Linked DNA regions of Homo sapiens: regions 1 and 2 are each linked to region 3. The links are contacts of gene promoters, found by promoter capture Hi-C in human tissues and cell types (Jung and others, 2019). All regions are on one chromosome and are shown on one strand. The core of a region is centred on a gene start or on the middle of the fragment in contact, and the rest is flanking DNA. Distances in the headings are between cores, read along the strand shown. Region 1 has its middle 140 kb from the start of KCNG1. Region 2 overlaps PTPN1 (protein tyrosine phosphatase non-receptor type 1). Region 3 holds the start of BCAS4 (breast carcinoma amplified sequence 4).

Region 1 (3,931 bases), core at 1,410-3,909, 370 kb after region 3:
GGAGTGGGGAAAGATGAAGAGACACAGGGCAGTCCTTGGGGATGGCAGCATAAGTGTACAGCACCAGTGCTAATAATCAGCAGCTCAGTGAGTGCTTATTCAACACACATTCATTCATTCGTACATATGTGGGAGTCAGGTATGTTTTGTTTTTAGGGTTTACAGGGACCTATGGGGGAAATGAAGGGATGCTAAGGTACATTCCTTACTGTGGTGGGCATCTGATGTTGTAAATCCCTCTTTCCCGCCTCTTCTGATAACAGCACCAGTGCTCTTTTGGAGGACGTACCCACTCCGGTTCAGGTGGCTGAGGAGGGGCTGAGCACCGCGTCCTCTGACCAAGGTTAGCAGTTCCGGGGTGGGTCAGCCTGTGTGGAAGGCAGCAGAGCTTGGAGATGCAACATCCAGAGGGGATCTCTTAGCCTACTGGATCCAGTTAGATGTGTCCCTAGAGTTTTCACTTATGAGAGGCAGTAAGCCCCTTTAAATAATCAACCCCGTTTGAATAGAGTTTCTACCATATGCACACTTGACCACAAGGAGTTTATGATCTCACCGAAAAAAACAAGAAGGAATAGCCTTCTACTTGATTGTTATACTTGCATGTGCATATAGGTATATACATCTGTTTATGTTTAAGAGATTATTCTATGTTTAAGAGATTATCCTATACTCACGAAGAGCTGGATTTTAGTTCTGGCTTTGACTCTAAGTCATAGTGTGAACATGGGCCAACACCACTTCCTCTCTGAGCCTCAGTCTTCCCATCTGTGAAATGAATGCCCTGGGCTCTCTGCTCCCTAAAGCCAAGTCCCTTCCACTCTTTTTTTTTTTTGAGACACAGTTTCGCTCTTGTTGCCCAGGTTGGAGTGCAGTGGCACGATCTTGGCTCACTGCAACCTCCGCCTCCTGGGTTCAAGCTGTTCTCCTGCCTCAGCCTCCTGAGTAGCTGGGATTACAGGCACGTGCCACCACAGCCAGCTAATTTTTTGTATTTTTAGTAGAGATGGGGTTTCCCCATGTTGGCTAGGCTGGTCTTGAACTCCTGACCTCAGGTGATCCACCCGCCTCGGCCTCCCAAAGTGCTGGGATTACAGGCATGAGCCCCTGCATCCAGCCCCTTTCACTGTTATATACTAGGAATTTAAGATTAGTATCTGTGGGATGGCTGGAGACAAAATAATGAGAAACCAAGAAAACATTGATGTGCCCTCCGCTAGCCTCAGCATTCTGCTTGTTGATGCAGAAATGAGAAGGACCTAGGACCTGACTGGAAGGAGGAGCCGGGATTTGTGTATGGGAGGCCGCAGCAGCCTGGCCATGGGTTCTGCTGCCTCCTGCAGATGCGTAAAACATTGATAAGGATGATGCCTGCAAAGCGCCCTTCACAGATGGCTGTGGGCTGTACCCGGAGCGCGGGGAAGGAGATGAGAAAAGTAAGAGCAGTTGGCTTCAGATCAGCCCCAGATAGTGGCATGGGGATTGAAGCTTTTAACACAGACCTTGAATGCCCGTGACCCACAGGAACAGTGGCCAATGTTCTAAACTAAGGAGATGCAAAAACATCCAGCTCAGTCTCCTCTGCCTCTCAGACTCCAGACATGTCAGAGGAGGATATGACAACAAGCTTAGAGAGGCAACTGGCTTTTTCCCCTGAATCTCTGGTGGAACCGATCCTCCTGAGCTGAGATAACCATTTACACTATTGATTGACTGATTGATTTCTAAAGGTGAAAAGCATATTTGTTAGGGTCTGTTTGGCTCCAAAACCCCTGAGTAACAGCAGCTAAAAGGATAAGAATATCACTCCTGTCTTAACAAGGTGTCTGGGCAGAAGTACCAAGATACCGCACGTCATAAAAATGTCATCAGGGAATTAGGCCCTTTCCCAGTCTCCTTTCTGGGTTGACCCTCTGTCCTTGAATTTGTTATCTCCAACCCTAAGATGGTTGCCACAGCTCCAGGTGTTGTGTCTCTGATCCTCTTCTGCATCCTAGGGAGGAGGCAGGGCATAGGTGAGAGGCTCTCTTTGTAAGCCGAAGCCTTTTGATCTGAAACATTCACTTTCTAGTAGCCTTTGAAGAGACCTGCTTATACAACTCATCGGCCAGAATGGAGGGACACATCCCACTCCAGGCTGTAAAGAGCCTGGGATAAGTGTTAGTGCATAGAGGCAGAGGAGAAATGGGCTGATCAGGTGGTTGATGGTGGACCAAGGCAGAACAGGGATGAACATAAGCCCTAGGAGGGGCCTCCCATATGTTTCTCCACTGGGGGCTGAGTCTGAGGTTGGCTTACAGATTGTCTGGTCCCCGATTCTTCTCTTGGTTTGACCACTTGCTCACCATGTACCCACAAAGTACAAGACAGAGGTTTCAGTTTGTGGAGCAGAGGCTAGAATTGAATCCCAGTGGGAATGAACTAATTTGCAGACGCTATCTCCAAACTTAAATATTTGATACCCATTAAGCCTGTCTAACCAAAGCATCTCCCCAGGCATGAGTCACCAAACTTGACCTGCTCTCCACCCTCGGATCTAGTCAGGCTAGACAACACTGCTGTCAACAAATTTTAGGATCTCTGTGGCTGAACCTGGATGTTTACTTTTCATGCACACAGAGGCTACTGTGGATCTAGAGCCTCTCCATGGAAGCTCCCTGCAGATGGGTGGCTCCAGTCTCCAAGGGCTTCCATCTTATAGCTATACGTGGCTCCAGGGTCCCTGTGGCAGGGGAGGAGACCCACAGGCTTATGTACTGGCTCTTAAATGCTTCAGCCGGGAAGGGACACAGCTCCCTTCTGCTCACAGCCCATTGGCCAGAAGTAGTTACATGGCCCCACCTAACTCCAAGGGACCAGCCCACGAGGAGGAGTGCATGGATGGATGGGAGTGGGAACCGTGGCTCCACACCTGCCCTGTATGGCTCCCCGCCACCCTCAAGGTCAAGTCCTTACCCCAACCTCTCAGGCTTCCCCAATCCCCACTGCACAGCCCATGGTTCAGGGACACAGAGGCACTTCAGTACTCACAGCAGGCTTTCCGCAAGCTTCGCTCCTTGCCTTCACACATGCTGTCCCTCTGTCCCTTCCCCTTCTCCTGGGTGATTCCTGCTCATTCTTCATGTCATGGTTATTTATGTGTCAACTTGACTGGGCTAAGGGAAGCCCAGATTGCTGGTTAAACATGACTTCTAGGTGTATCTGTGAGGGAGTTTCTGGAAGAGCTGAGCATTGGAATCCATAGACTGTGTAAAGAAGACCACCCTGCCCAATGTAGGCATGCATCATCCAGTCCTCTGACAGCCCCAGTAGAACAAAAAGGTGGAAGAAGCATGAATCTGTTTCCTCCATTGGAGGTGGGACCTCCATCTTCTCCCACTCTCAGACACTGGTGCTCCTGGTTCTCAGGCCTCCAGACTCAGACTGGGAATTGCACCCCAGGCTATGAACTTGAACTGAATTACATCACTGGCTTTTCTGGATCTCCAGCTTGCAGAGGGCACATCACGGGACTTATTGGCCTTCAGAATCACGTGAGCAAATTCTCATAATGAATCTCCTCTTATAAATCTGTCTGCATCCTGTTGGCTCCATTTCTCTGGTGAACGCCAACTCCAACACTTCATGGCTCATCTTGGGTTCTGTGTTTTCCCTTCCGTTCAGGGGATCGGGTGTGTTCGGTGGGCTCCCCTCACCCCCTCCATGTACACCATTGACGCCTCATCACCCGGTATTTTATCTATCTGTTTCCTTGGCTCTCCCGCACTAGCCCACAAGGTATGCCTTGGTGCTGTTAACCGTGTATGCCCAGCATCCAGGGCAGTGTCTCACACAGAGTAGGAACCCAATGACCATCAGTTGATTAAAAAAAAAAAAAAAGCAGTGAATAAATGTTTATTTCAGTTGCTTTAAATCCGTATCTTGGAAAATA
Region 2 (3,982 bases), core at 176-2,675, 280 kb before region 3:
GTGTTGGAGTTGATTATGATACACCCCATCACAGTGGAAGCATTGTGGAGAGAAGTCTTTTCCACTGAAATTGACTGAGTTGACAACAAGAAATACGTATTGTAACTTAGTTCTTAGTTGAATTTTATTTCTTACAATTTTAAGCCAGAGTGGGTTGACCTGTCACCCAAGCATGGTTAAAATTGTATTCAGCATGCAACTAGCATGGAGTGTGTCAGTCTTCAATTCATTTCCTTCATTGTTCTTAAGTTTTTCTGCCACAATTAAACCCCACAAGTTAGTCAAGGTGTTGAGATTTTCACTGCTTCTTAATGGATTGCCACATTCCCTGAGGTAGTTTCTTTTGGTCTTAGAGAATTGTCAGGGCCAGCTTTTCTCACCTCCACTGTATGGATATTTTTCTTTTCTAAGATCTTGAAATCAGAAGCTTTTCTCCTAAGTGTAAAAGTAGCTCTTTGTCATACAACTGTAGCGTTTTCTGAAACAGAGTTCAGATGACCTTGAGTCTAAAGTGGCTAACTTTCCAAGGTGTGTATCGCTTTACCAAAACCATTATTTTTCAAGGATTCAAAGAATGTGTTTACAATTGATAGAAAATGGAAGTTTAAAAAAATTAATACTTTATAGCATGTTGAAATGAGGGCAGCCTTATACAAAGTCATACTTTGAGCTTGCCTAGCCTATTGTGATCAGAGAATAATGTAATTTTTGCTTACAACTTGGTAAGCAGGTCAGTTATTCTAACTTATTTTCTGATTAGAACAAAAAGATGTAAAAACTTGAAAACTATTGGGAAAAGAACAAAGAGTGAAGAGGACTTTTGAGTGCTGAGGAATGTGGCAGCTTGGAAAACAAACTTTTTAGGCAGAGATTCTTTGCTAGGTCAGTTTGATAAAGTGAGCATAACCGTATTTTTAATCTTTAATGCTAATGAATAGCATAGATGCTAATAAGCATCTAGGTCTATAAAAAGTCAGCTTTGATAGTGTATATAGATGGCTTTAAACATTGTTTTCTAGCATTTAAACACTTTCAAATCATCCGGTTGCTTGATTGGGCCTAGCTGTCTAAGAGGAGAGAATGAGCCCAGATGAGGAAAAGAGATTGATTTTACTGAGCTAGAATGAGAGGAGAGAGGGTTGAGTGAATGAAAAGAATAGCTCATGTGCTCCCCTCCATCTGTAGTTTAAGAGGGGTTGGGTCCGGTGTTTTGCTTGTTTTCTCGTCTGTAAATTCTTTGATTCTCTGACACCACTCACTATATTTCATTGTGAATGATTTGATTGTTTCAGATAAAGGGGACTGCAATAATACCTTGTGACATGAAGGCAAGATTTATTCATGTTAGAGGCAGGCTTTGTAAAATGGGCCACTCTTCCAATTGACATTTGTTTTTATAGCTGTTTTCATTATGAAATACAATCTAATGCCTGACTAGGTTAAAACCATGTTGTAACAATAGTTCACTAAAATTCCTTACTGATATACAGCTTATGTTGTTATATTCCAAAAAGATGAATATTAAAATTTGCCAATAATGTTTATTTAAATACTATTTTCTTCAGAGGAAAAAAAACTATTTTATGCAAAGGAGAAAGATCTATACACTATGACTCACTTCACTTAAAAAAAAAAAGACTAACGGAAATGACATGGAGAGACTGGGAAGTTCTAGTCATCTTGAGTGACCCATTAGATCTAAATGTTCTTGTTTAGCCCTGGTTTGAGTGAACTAAATTTAGGTGTCTGATCAGTACTTTGGAAATGGTGTAAATGCCTTTGTAATTGTCTGGACTGATATTAGATTAACTGGGAGCACAAGTAGAAATAGTGAAGGAAAGAACTTTTTGCTATTGTTATTTGACATCACTGGCATATTTATAGGAATACTTTGGTGTTTTTGGAAGTAAGTAAACCAACCAGTGGTTCTAAAAAGTCAGCTGGGGGATAATGGTAATGCCGCTGTTTCTTAGCTGCAAGTTATCTGCCGTTACTTCTCCTCCATTTTGCATTTTATCTTGAATAGCTCCTCAAAACCTATTAAAATACCTGGTATTGAATAATGTAATTGAATGTGTACTGAATTTCACAGTGGAAATGAATAAGAAATTTCCTGTGGAGGTTTTTTGACTTAGCTACTGAAATAACGGCCTTTTGTTGTGTGATTCTTTCCCTTTTCTCTTTGTTAAAGAAAACTGTCTTGTGATCTTGTAGATTACAGAATCCTTTTGGCAATTTCTGTTCCTAGCACTGCTTTTTCTTTCTTTCTTTCTTTTAAATAGAAATGGGGTTTTGCTGTGTTGCCCAGGTTGGTCTTGAACTCCTGGCTTCAAGCGATCCTCCCACCTTGGCCTCCTGAAGTTGGGATTGCAGGCGTGAGCAGGTACTTTTTCTGAGGCCTGCCTGAGCCTATATATATTTTGCACAATTTGGCATTCCTCCCTACAGTGTTTATGCTGATTTGTTTCTGGTAACAACTAATACTGGCAAATCGGCTGGGCATGTTACTTTATGCTGCCCATATTCAGGAAAATTGGAATTCTAGCTGGGTCATTGTTCCCAGATGATGTAGTTTGGCACCAGCCATTCCATGTTCACATTTTGAGTATCCAGGAGGGCTGGGGACTTTGGAGTAGTTGGTGATTCCCTCTGCCACATTTCACTGGTTGGTCACTATGGCATCCTTTCCACCACACTAGTAGTCTAGGTTCTCAGATGTTGCTTATGAGCCTGCAATGGTTTCTAGTTTCACACTGCAGAAATGAGTGAAGCCGGTTACCCGTTAATATGGTCCCATCATCACTAGAGTAATTCATTGTTCTAAAACCAGATCTGAGTCTCTCACTCCTCTGCAACTACTTCTGATTCTTTCATAACACTTGTAAAGTCCAAACTCCTCTTTAGCATGGCAGCCAGCTTCCAGTCCTTCCCTCCTATGTGGCTTCCATTCTAGCCAGACAAGAAAGGGCAGCGTTCTCCAAACTCATCCTCGCCCTTCATTCCTCTATACCATTGCTGAGCACTTTGTTGAGGATGCCTCTCCCGTTCAATCTAGCTTGCATCTTCCAGCTCGAATGTGTGCTTCCTTGCACCAGAGTTTTGTTCCGTCACCTGTGTGTTTTCATACAAGCTGGCACATATCTCTTCTAAAGCCCTGCTGTCATTGTAGCTGCGTCTTTACAAACATTTTTTTTTTAAATTTTTATAAAGTCAAGGTCTCACTATATTGCCCAGGCTGGTCTCAAACTCCTGGGCTCAAGTGATCCTCCTGCCTTGGCCTCCCAGAGTGCTGGGATTATAGGTATGAGACACTGTGCCCAGCTGTAGCTGCTACTTTATATCCCAGGTCTATCTCCAATGGAGCCCAAGCTTCCTGAGGCCACCTGTTGTATCTTTCTCATTCATCTTGAAGTCCTCTGCTCCTGGCACAGAGTAGGTACCTAACAAGAGTTGGGATTGAATTGATGGTCAGTACTTTGCTAGCCTGATGGTATAAAGATGTACAAAACATGTTCCTGGCTCCCACTCTAGGGGGGCAATGATGGAAACAAATAGATTAGCCCACATTAGTACCAATAGTAGAGGTCACTCTGGGAGAAGGCCCCCACCACATTTTGAGTCATGGCCTAATGAGGTAATTTAGTATTGCCTGCTGCAGTGGCTTTGGAAGAAAGGCTGGCATTCTTAGCCAGTAGAAGCTGATACCACTGATTTGTTTCACAGAAGCTTTAAATATAACAATAAATTTGTGCTTGGCCTACGGTGAACTTTACAGGCAACTTGGAGGTAATATGTTTGTCTCTCTAAGAATTGTTGAATTCCTCTTCCCTCATCCCTCCTGACTGGTTCTCACAAGCCTAGCGGGCCTTTGCATGTGGTTGGTTCATAAAATACTTTTTGATTTTGGGATATAAAATATAGTTCTCCATAAAATAACGACTGTTACCAAGTCTTTGATTTTTTTTTTCAAACTATAAATGGT
Region 3 (4,066 bases), core at 582-3,081:
AAGTCTTTGCCAAGAATTTTCCAGAAAATGACTGGCCTGAAGGCCTGGATATTTGGATAGGGAGAAATTAGCAGTGGACAGATTTGGAAGTGGGAATTGTGCAGTGATGGACTACACAAAAGGCAGGTCAAACATGTGTTGTTTAGGCCCCTACCTAGGGTGGCCAACTACAATATAAATTCAGATTTAATGGAGAGGAAGGTGTGGGACGTCCTATATATTTATTTGCACCCTTGATACCAGCCCCTCCTTTTTAAAAAACAACAACAACAACAAAAGACAGAGTTTCACTGTGTCACACAGGCTGGAGTGCAGTGGTGCGATCATAACTCGCGGTAGCCTTGAACTCCTGGCCTCAAACAATCCTCCTGCATCTGCCTCTCCAGTAGCTAGGACTACAGTTGTGCCCCACCACATCCTGCAATTTTAATTTTTTTTTTTCTTTTAGAGAGATGGAGTCTCCTTATGTTTGCCCAAGCAGCTCAGCCTTTTTTTTTTTTTTTTTTTGTGAGGCGATTTAACATTTAAAGAAAAGTCAGCAGGCAGGGGGCGCTGGCCCACGCCTGTAATCCTAGCACTTTGGGAGGCCGAGGCAGGTGGCTCACCTGAGGTCAGGAGTTCGAGAGCAGCCTGGCCAACATGGCGAAACCCCGTCTCTACTAAAAAATACAAAAATTAGAATTAGTCGGGCGTGGTGACAGGCGCCTGTAATCCCAGCTACTCGGGAGGCTGAGGGAGGGGGAGAATTGCTTGAACCCGGAATGTGGAAGTTACAGTGAGCCGAAATCGCACCACTGCACTCCAGCCTGGGCGACAGAGCGAGACTCCGTCTCCAAAAAAAAAAAATTAATTAATTAAAAATAAAAATAAGTCATCAAACGAAAAATCAAAACTTCAGACTTGTCTTATACCTATTTGCCTTTTAGTACTTTCCTCATTAGCACTGTTGGGGTGGGAGATGAGGCGCACCTCGCTCTCTTCAGCCCCAAGGCTTGTAAAGGGTCTATCTAGGCCGGCCTCCGAGGGCATGGAGGGAGTGGGTGCGGTTGTGAAATGTAGTGCGCTCAATAGTTTCCTGGTGAAGTTTATTTTAAAATCCGCACCGAAGAGGAAGACGAGGACCGTCACACTCGGCCTTCCCTAAATTCCAGGACCCTCCGCCCGATGCAAACTAGATGCTTTAGTAGGATGGGAACGGGTGGGGGGCGGGCGGCTTTGGGCTTCCTCTAAGCTAGCGCCTCTCTAACCCGGACGCCCGTTAGAATCACCCGGGGAGTTTTAGAAACTACCGATGCCCAAGCCCCACTCCGAAGGATTCCAACTTAATCGGCCTGGTGCGAGGCCTGGCTTCCGGGCTTTTAAAAGCTTCCCGGGGATTCTATTTTACGGCCGGGTCCGGGGCCGGGAGCCTGTACTCTACCGGGATTCCGATGGGGAGGGGTGGCTTGCCCCAATAGTTCTCAAATTTAGCTTTGGGTCAACAATCTGGTTGGAACCACCTAACAAACATCAAAAGATCCTGATGCCCAGGTCTTAACCCAGAGACGGTGTGGTCCAGGCTTGGGAAATTCTAAAAGAGCTCCAGGTGACTGCCATCTGCAAGCGAGTTTGCAAAGCACTGATGCCCAGGTGCTGCGGGGGCGGGCGCAGCGCGCGCCGCTCGCCACTGGGTGGCGCTGCCCGCTCGGCCCGGCGCTCCTGGAGCTGCGAGCCGCGACCGCCGGGAGCGCACCTGCCCCGCCTCCGCCAGGCGGTCCGCGGGGCATGCAGCGGACCGGGGGCGGGGCTCCGAGGCCCGGGCGCAACCACGGGCTCCCAGGCAGCCTCCGCCAGCCGGACCCCGTCGCCCTCCTGATGCTGCTCGTGGACGCTGATCAGCCGGAGCCCATGCGCAGCGGGGCGCGCGAGCTCGCGCTCTTCCTGACCCCCGAGCCTGGGGCCGAGGTAGGGGACGGGGCTGTGGAGTTGGAGGAGAGGGTTCTCGCGGTTAGGGGTCCGGGCTCCGGACCCTCGGCTTCCCCGGAGCATCCTCTCGCTCCCGGAGTGGGGGGCCCGGGGATTCCCCCCTTCCTGAAGGGTGGCTGCGGGGCGCCACGCAGAGATGTGCAGCGGGTCGTCCCTGCTCGCTCCTCCGGGCGACACCGGGCCCCGGAGGCCCAGGCTCGCTTTCCCTCCCCACCCGGGTCCCCCAGCATCCGCCGGGTCCTCAGGCGCCGCCCTTTGCCAGGCCGGCCCTGGGAGAGGCGGACCCCGGGACCTCTGCTGCCCCGGCTACCTCCGAGCGGTGCCCGGGCCGAGCGGCGCCTCAGGCTGCGGCTGTGCGGGCCGCGCTGCGCTGCTGCAGCTCGGAGCGAAAACACCACGCCTCTGTCTGCGCTTTCTATTTTAAAAGCACCAAGTGAAAAGCAGATCTAAAACGAGACCCTCTACCTTCCGGCTGGAGGCATCTGTCGACGCTGTTGTGAAAAAGTTATTTGTCTGAGTTCACTAGGAGTTATTTACGGTCAGAAATTCAACCCATTCTCTTTTTAAACCACAAAAGCAGTACAGGAGTATTTAACATAAAGGCTATGCACCCCTTTCTCTTTTCTCTCCCACCCCAATTCTAGTTTTCTTAGAAAACCAGCATTAACTGTTTGGTATAAATCATTCCGGACATTTAAAATGCATTTACAAATGTAGATATCTGTATCTGCCTAGGCAGAGTATTGGCTCATGCCAGTGGTCCCAGCATTCTGGGAGGCTGAGGCAGGAGGATTGCTTGGGATGGGGATAGGGGACGGGGAAGAGTGAGGCTGCAGTGAGGCTTGATCATGCCACTGCACTCCAGCCTGGGCGACAGAGTGAGACATTTAAAAAAAAATCTATCTCGCCAGGCCTGGTGGCTCACGCTTGTAATCCCAGCACTACTGGGAGGCCGAGACGGGTGGATCACCTGAGGTCAGGAGCTCGAGACCAGCCTGACCAACATGGTGAAACCCCGTCTCTACTAAAAATACAAAAATTAGCCGGGTGTGTAATCCCAGCTACTTGGGAGGCTGAGGCAGGAGGATCGCTTGAACCTGGGAGGCGGAGGCTGCAGTGAGCTGAGATCAGCCATTGCATTCCAGCCTGGGCAACAAGAGCAAAACTCCCTCTCAAAAAAAAAAACCATAAAATATCTTTCCATATATATATATATACATATATATGAGTTTTCTCTTTTTTCTTTTTCTTTTTCTCCATATATATATATATATATATATATATATATATATATTTTTTTTTTTTTTTTTTTTTTTTTTGAGATGGAGTCTTGCTCTGTCACCAGGCTGGAGTGCATTGGCATGATCTCAGCTCACTGCAACCTCCGCCTCCCAGGTTCAAGGAATTCTCCTGCCTCAGCCTCCCGAGTAGCTGGGACTACAGGCGTGTGCCACCATGCTCAGCTAATTTTTGTATTTTTCAGTAGAGACGGGGTTTCACCATGTTGGCCAGGATGATCTCTATCTCTTGACCTCGTGATCCACCCTCCTCGGCCTCCCAAAGTGTTGGGATTACAGGCGTAAGCCACAGCGCCCAGCCATCTCCACATATTTTTAAAATAATTTTTGAACAGACGTTTTTAATTTTTTTTTTTTTGACAGGGTTTCACTTTGTCACCCAGGCTGGAGTGCAGTGACACAATCATAGCTCAATGTAGCCTCAACCTCCTGGGCTCAAGTGATCCTCCCACCTCAGCCTCCCGCATAGCCAGGACCACAGGTGCGCACCACCATGTCAGGTTAACTTTTAAAACAAAGTTATTTTGTGGAGACGAGATCTCACTATGTTGCCCAGGCGGGTCTTGAATTCCTGGGCCCAAGAGATCCTTTGGCCTCAGCCTCCCAAAGTGCTGGGATTATAGGCATGTACCACCATGCCTGGCCCATCTATATTAGTTTTAAATGAAACCTCACTTGCTGCTGTAATACTGTCCTGCAACTTGCTTTTCTTTACTCAAAATAGCATGGAAAAATGTGTGGGGACTACTAATGGGAAGGTATGGGGCTTCGTTTTGGTGTAATGAACATGTTCTGGATGTTAG

Evidence for each region. Contacts are between HindIII fragments. The study calls those that stand out against the background at their distance.
Region 1: a contact is called between a fragment that was not itself captured here and the fragment with the promoter of BCAS4 in region 3, in 2 of the 25 tissues and cell types used here (bladder and thymus).
Region 2: a contact is called between a fragment that was not itself captured here and the fragment with the promoter of BCAS4 in region 3, in 1 of the 25 tissues and cell types used here (dorsolateral prefrontal cortex).

The regions. Positions count from the first base shown.
Region 1 is chr20:51,158,086-51,162,016 of GRCh38, forward strand. No RefSeq gene overlaps it. Among named protein-coding and RNA genes, the nearest start is that of KCNG1, 140 kb to the left of the region's middle. The HindIII fragment of the contact is 5,297 bases long and covers 12-3,931 here.
Region 2 is chr20:50,512,269-50,516,250 of GRCh38, forward strand. All of the region lies in intron 1 of PTPN1 (protein tyrosine phosphatase non-receptor type 1), which reads left to right. Among named protein-coding and RNA genes, the nearest start is that of PTPN1, 3.9 kb to the left of the region's middle. The HindIII fragment of the contact is 4,243 bases long and covers 1-3,547 here.
Region 3 is chr20:50,793,230-50,797,295 of GRCh38, forward strand. It overlaps BCAS4 (breast carcinoma amplified sequence 4), which reads left to right and starts at 1,832. Exons shown (of 5, transcript NM_198799.4): 1 at 1,832-1,944. The coding sequence starts at 1,855. RefSeq lists a silencer at 1,565-2,384. The HindIII fragment of the contact is 12,365 bases long and covers 1-4,066 here.